2 separate regions of the Homo sapiens genome follow, and region 1 is linked to region 2. Evidence: promoter capture Hi-C in human tissues and cell types (Jung and others, 2019). All regions are on one chromosome and are shown on one strand. The core of a region is centred on a gene start or on the middle of the fragment in contact, and the rest is flanking DNA. Distances in the headings are between cores, read along the strand shown. Region 1 overlaps TTLL12 (tubulin tyrosine ligase like 12). Region 2 holds the start of SCUBE1 (signal peptide, CUB domain and EGF like domain containing 1).

Evidence for each region. The method cuts DNA at HindIII sites, captures the fragments that hold promoters and counts their contacts. A contact is called where the count stands out against the background at its distance.
Region 1: a contact is called between a fragment that was not itself captured here and the fragment with the promoter of SCUBE1 in region 2, in 1 of the 25 tissues and cell types used here (mesendoderm cells).

The regions. Positions count from the first base shown.
Region 1 is chr22:43,167,996-43,171,195 of GRCh38, forward strand. TTLL12 (tubulin tyrosine ligase like 12) reads right to left here. Exons shown (of 14, transcript NM_015140.4): 12 at 1,505-1,573; 13 at 779-917; 14 at 1-164. The coding sequence ends at 13. Among named protein-coding and RNA genes, the nearest start is that of TTLL12, 18 kb to the right of the region's middle. RefSeq lists enhancers at 213-1,069, 1,070-1,925. The HindIII fragment of the contact is 9,757 bases long and covers 1-3,200 here.
Region 2 is chr22:43,341,350-43,344,633 of GRCh38, forward strand. It overlaps SCUBE1 (signal peptide, CUB domain and EGF like domain containing 1), which reads right to left and starts at 2,023. Exons shown (of 22, transcript NM_173050.5): 1 at 1,825-2,023. The coding sequence starts at 1,912. The HindIII fragment of the contact is 4,801 bases long and covers 49-3,284 here.

The DNA.
Region 1 (3,200 bases), core at 602-3,101, 170 kb before region 2:
GACAGCGAGTGCCTAGACAAGGCAGGTAACGTGGCAGCCACCGGGCTGGTCCAGAAACAAGGTGCTGAAGACGTCGTTGAAGAAGGTGGGGTGGTACCTGCAGGCTCGCTCACAGTCGGGGTTGAAGTTCACCTCCAGGATCTGCGGCTGCATCACCCGCCTTCCTGATGGCAAAGAGCGCAGCAGAGTGTGAAGGCTCGTTGGCCTCCACTCTGCAGGGACAGTGGCCTGGGGATCCAGCAAAGGCTGGGAGGCCATGAACCTGGGCCCTGATTCCCAGGGGATGAGCAGGACAAGGCCGGGCCTAGAACTTGGGTCTCTTGACTTTGCTGGGGAGGCCTGGCCTGACATCTGCTTCTCTAGGAGAGGCCAGGGCTGCCTCCAGCCCTAGGGATGACAGCCTGGCCCTTTAAGCTTGGATGTTCAGTTTAGTAAAAAAAAAAAAAAGTAGATATGCAGCAGCAGTGTACTGTGTGGGGGTCTGGCACAGGGAAGGCCAGCCAGGGTGGTGTGGGTTGGGGTCAGGGTGCCTTTCACACGGGTCTCCTGTCCTGTGAGCTCTCCCCCGACTCAGAGGCCCAACCCGCAGCCTTTCCCCTCCAGACTCTGCACCGCAGGCACTTCCTGTGGGCCAAGCCAGGGCTTTCCCCAACCCAGATTCCTGGCTGATTCAAGCCAGAGGACAGCCTGGGGCAGCTGCCTGCCTTCTCCAGGCTGTGGCTGGCTGGCGGAGGGGGCGCCTGCTGGTTTGGATCAGGAGATGGGGAGCCCCTCTTACCATCTGGGCCGTTGTCCCACTTCAGCATGAGGTCGACGGCATACATGGCCCGGGATGAGGGGTAGTCGCAGAGGCCCAGGGGTGGTGGCTTGGCACAGGCCACCTGGAACAGCTCCGTGAAGGCCCGGAAGATCTCAGCCTGGGGACCGGGGAGCCTGAGTTACGAGGCCTGCTCAGAACAGCCTCTCAAGAGGGGGTCTGCTGCCCCTGCCCAAGTCCCGGGCCCCACGTGGCCCAAGTCACCCCCTCCCACATCTTCACGTCTCTAGACCTCACCATGGCCACCTCCGCCCAGCACCTGCCCTCTTACTCCTGACGCCCACCTTCTGCAAATCTGCCCATCTCCTGCCGCAGACCCCGTTGCTCCCCACTGCCCCAAGGAGCTCAACACAGCACCCAGAATGCCGCTGCTGGACATGGAGGCCCAGCCAACGTCTCCATATGACTGGGAATCTAGGGTCAGGCAGTGCCGCCACCCTCTGGCTGTCCCAGGGGTGCCCCACATGCCCCTCCAGCTCCCTCCCTCTCAGGAGCACCCACAAATGCCCAGGGTGGAAGGGAGGGGAGCCCACGCTGTCTTGCCAGCCTCTGGGGAGAATGACCAACTGCAGGGGACAAAGGTCCCTCCCAGCCCATGCCAGCAGAGAGGGAAGGGAGCAGCTCCTGCAGGCCCCCAGCCCGGGACCCGCCCCACCGGCCTGCGATGGTGTGCAGGACAGGAATTACCTGGACGTCCGTCCAGGGAAATTCTGGGTATTGCTTCTCAAACTCGGGGATGAACTCTTCACAGTGCACCTGCAACAGACACAGGGCCCATCACGCTCTGTACAGGCCTCCGCTGGGCCGGGAGCAGGCAGCCTGCTACTGCCTGGACCAGGAGCTTCTGACACTGGGTGGGGGTTCCAGGAGCAGGCAGCCAACCCCGAACCCTCAGGGTCCAAACAGGAGGCAGGAGATGGAGTCTGGGCTCCAGGTCTTACTGTGTGACTCTGGACCAACGGATTAACTTCTCTGAGCCTGTTTCCTCCTCTGTGAAATGGGAAAATGTGCTCTGCCCAGTAAACTGACTTTGCCACGCAGCTGTGAGGCTCACGCGAGACAATGAACATCGAGGGCTCCAGAAACTGCAGGGCCTGGGCTGGCACCATCCTCACACTCAGCTCAGTACAGTGCGAAGGAGGCAGAGCTCAAGACTCCGCCGCGGGACCTGCCTGTGCCCTGGTTCAGCACCAGCTCAAGAGTGCTTGAGGGATGCAAGATCTTTCTGGCCTCAAGACTTTACCCAAAACACACCCGAGGAAGGTGGCAGTCGGCTCAGGTTTCTCCCAGAAAAGAACAAGCCAGGAAAGGCCCCTATGGAAGCCCGCCATCCATGCCATGCTGGACGTACCTCCCCAGGCACAGAGCTCCAGGAGAGGACTCCCGGGATGACCCCCACAGTACAGAAGGGAGGGGCTCAGAACCTGAGGGCGACTTCCAACAATGTCCTGGGGCCCTGCTGGGGGGTCTGGGTCCTAGGGAGTAGGCTTCAACACAGGCAAGGATAAGACAGACAGAAGCAACAGGACCACTCGGCCCCTGTGGGGAGTGTGTGCTGGTATAGTCACCAGTGCATGGCAGGGCCCTTTCTCCAAGTCCTCCTAGAGGACTCCTCGGACATGGGCATGGCCAGGTGCCTCCACGCATGTTCACGCGCCATGATTTATCATTAGTGAAGACCTCAGATGACCAATCGCCGCCACAGTTAGCAACAAGCCCGAACCTCAAAACCTCAAAACACGCCACTCAGCCAACAAAGCAAGCTGCAGAAGGATCCGTTGAATAAGATGATATTTACATAAAAACCTAAGTAGGAGGCCGGGCATGGTGGCTCACGCCTGTAATCCCAGCACTTTAGGAGGCTGAGGCAGGCGGAGCGCTTGAGTCCAGGAGTTTCAGACAAGCCTGGGCAACATGGCGAAACCCCGTCTCTACTAAAAATACAAAAAAATTAGCCGGGCGTGGAGGCACGTGCCCGTAGTCCCAGCTACTTTAGGGGGCTGAGGCAGAAGGATGGCTTGGGCCCAGGAGATTGAGGTTGCAGTGAGCCCAGATCATGCCTCCGCACTCCAGCCTGGGTGACAGCGTGAGACATTGTCTCTCAAAAAAACAAAACAAAACAAAAAACCTAAGTAAGCAAAACAGCAGCTTGAATGGTCAGGAACATACTCCTGCTGAAAAGAACCAAAGACATGCCTGGGAATGACAGCCACACGTTCAGGGGTCGGGGAGCGTTGGGGCTGGCTGCATGGGGAGTCCGCGGCACCTGCAAGGCTGGCGACAGGCAGGGTGGGGTAGGTGTTCTGTGCATCTGAAACACTCATTAACCAGCCAGGCCACAGAGGCCTTCCAGGACTTCCTTTCTTCCTTCCTGTACCCAGAG
Region 2 (3,284 bases), core at 773-3,272:
GGGACCCAGAGGCCAGAGAGGGCCCATCTCCAGGCTTCTGTTTGGGAGGACTGGGGTCACTTATGAGACAGGACCAGCAGGGGCAGTGGGCCACAGATATGGCTCTTCCCACTTCCCAGGGGCCAGTATGTAGGAATGAGGGGTGGGAGCCCCTTGTGCCCTCACCCCTAATCTCCCACCTAGGCAGGTGTCTTCACTGGAATGGAAATGGATGGATGTTGATGAGGGGTGGGTGGAGCTATCTCCCAACACACCTTTAAACACTTGGGTGTCCTTGGTGTGGAGTGTGGGGAGAGGACATGGGAGTTTGAGGAGAGAGAGGGAGAAGCCACTTGTCCCCATCGGTTCTCTGCCATGCTCCCGCTCCTGTCTGGGCTGGAGACTCCCCTGCAGGGCGACCCAGCCCTCCTAGCACAGGCTGCTCCCTTTGACTCTGGTTTGCTTATGCTGGGGACATGCTGCTGGGGTTTCACAGTCACAGGGCTTCCACGGAGAGGGTCGTGGAGGAGACAGAGTCAGATACAGAGAGACACGAGGAGGGACACAGGTGGGGATAGGCACGCCCAGGAACAGTCACTCAGAGGTGAGGGACCCCAAAGCTTGGGAGAGACACCCACAGACACAAGGGGGATGATGGGGCAGCAGGGCTGGGCTTCCAGGAGGGGTGTTGCTGTGGAAGAGTCTCACAGGCCCAGCATCCTCACTCGGGGCACGCGGGACCACCAGGAATAGACCCTACGCCACCCATACCAGACCTCAGGAAGCCGGGAAGGACGTGCAGGACCCTCCCCCTGCCTCCCCCTCCAAGCAGAGCACCGGAGGAAGCGCCTCTGATGACGAGGAGGGGAGAATGTGACTCCAGCTTTTCGGGAAGCCCCTGAAGACAGAGAGCAGGAGGGGACCGGGTGGGAGGGTGGGGGGGTCCCCGTGAAACCCACGGGCCTGGGCCTGTGGCCTCCGGGTCTCCCCCTCCCCTTCCTGGGTCTGCTCCACCGACGTCCCGCGTCCGGACTCTCCTCCCTGTGTCTGTCCTCCGGATCCTCTGCCTTCCTTCCCTCTGTCTTTCCTCCCCGTCCTGTCAGACGGTCCCGGTCCCTCGTCTGCGGCTTTCCAGGTATCTCTGTCCCTCTCTCTTTCCCGGTCTCCCTCTCACCGCCCCCCCCAACCCCGTTTTTCTGCGGCGTCCATCTGTCCCCCGTCTCCTCCTCTCTCTCTCCCTTATCATCGGTGGGACCATCCCTCTTGATTCCCCCTGATCCACCGGCCTCCTCCTCCTTCCCCGGGCGGTGCGGGCCTCCTCTCTACCCTTCCGCATCTGTCTTTTCTCCGGGCTTCCTTTTGTCTGCTCCCTCGGCGCCGGCTCTTCTGTCCGTCTGTCCCGCACCTCCCGCCCCGTCCCGGTCTCTCGGTCCGTCCCTTTCCCCGTCCACCTCCTGGCGTGTCCCCCTCCGCCCGCCCCGCCCCGCGCCCCCTCTCCCAGGAGGAGCGCCCCTCTGCGCTCGGGGTCCCGCCCCGCCCAGGTCCGCACGCGGGGTCCCCGGGAACCGCCGCCTTTCTTCCTCGCTCCCGCGCTCGCGCTTCCCCTCCCGGGGCCCCGGCCCACCCACCCCTGGTGCGGCCCCGCCGGACTCAGGAGCCCCGGCCGCCCGGGCTGCGGGGAGGGGGCGCCCCGGGCCGGCCCTAGAAGTTACTTTGCAAAGAGGCAGGGGGCGCGGGGCCGCGCGGGGCGAGCTCGGGATCCGCGGGGAAGAAGCCCTCCGGGACCGCGCCTCGGCCGCCCGAGCCCCCCGCGCCCGCCGCCCCCCACCTCGGTCGGGGGCTTACCTGGGAGCCCGCTGCCCCCGGCCAGCCGCCCGCGTGTGCCCAGGGCCAGCAGCACGCACAAGTGCCAGCGCACGGCCGCCGCGCCCATGCTCAATGCGGGCCCCGCTGGGCGTGCGGGCGTGCGGGGCGCGGGGACCCGACCGACCGGCCGCTCCCGCAGGCGCTGCTCGCTGCTCGCCGCTCCGCCACCGCTCGGGCTCCCGAGCCGCCCAGCCAGCCCGGCTGATGAGCTGACAGCGCGCGCTCATTGGCCCGTGGCGTCGGAGGGGCGGGGCGTCGCCCAGGGCCGGCCAATGGGCGCCGGCCTCCGGCCCTCCGAGGAAGAGGGGGGCTCGGGCGTCGTCGGGGGGACCCTTCCCCTGGGGCGGGCGGCAGGTGGGGGGTGTGGGCCTGGCCGGCCGGCTCGCTAGGCGCGGGGTCTAGGCCAGGCTGGGGCTGCTTGGAGGCTGCGCCCTCCCCTGCCCGCGGCGCCCCGGCCCCCGCCGTCGAGAGTGGACGCCCCTCTGGGGTAACCCCTCCCGGCCCAGAGGCAGCCTCGGGGGCGGGGATCCTGCGAACCGGGGATCCCGTGAGGTCGCCCGCCATCCGTGGGCAGTGAAACGCGCCAGCGCGCAGAGCAGACTCGCCTGCGCTGCCGTTTGCTGGACGTTTCTTGAGCACCTACTGGGGACCGAGTGCGGGCGAGGCAGCAGCGAAGGAACCGGGAGGGGAAACCTCGTGAAGATCACTTGAAAATTGACGTTCAAAACAAACGAACTTTTTAGCACTCGTCAAAGGACAGTGGCCCGTCAGTGTGCTTGTCACGGGGCGGCCGCAGGACCTGCGTCTGGAACCGGGCGGGCGCCCGGGACGGACAATGCCGCTTGGCGGTCGGTCCCGCGGGAGGCCCCCGCACGGGGCTAACCTCGGCCGGCGAAGTTCGCTGCCCGGAATGCGAGGCCGAGGCCTCCCCCTGTGACAGACCGGGCGGGGCCAGGAGGAGGGGCAGGGCGGGCATCCCGGTCCGAAGACCCAGGAACTGCTCTGGCCTGGCCTGGGGTCTACACCTGACGCCTGGCGAGGGTTGGCTTCGGGTCTGGTCCCACCGGGCCTGGGAGGGACGGGCGGCTGGAAATAAATGGCCCCTCTCAGTTCCAGGCAGGACGCTTTAAGGGACGAAAGTTCAGCAAACCCCAAGGCCCATCTCCTTGACAACCACCAATAAGAGCTCCTTTTTTCTTCTCCTGCTCTCCAGGCCCAACTCAAAGACAACTCTTTTCTCTTTTTGTCCACTCTGCCTGCACCAGTTTGAGCCCCTCCACACCAGCTCCCTTTCCTGCCCCCAACACACACACGCACACACACACACACACACACACACACACACACACACACAGTCACACATGCAGACACATGCTCTCACGTGCAATCACTCAGACACAGCCTCACACCCTCACACCCTCCAGCACACACACGCTCAC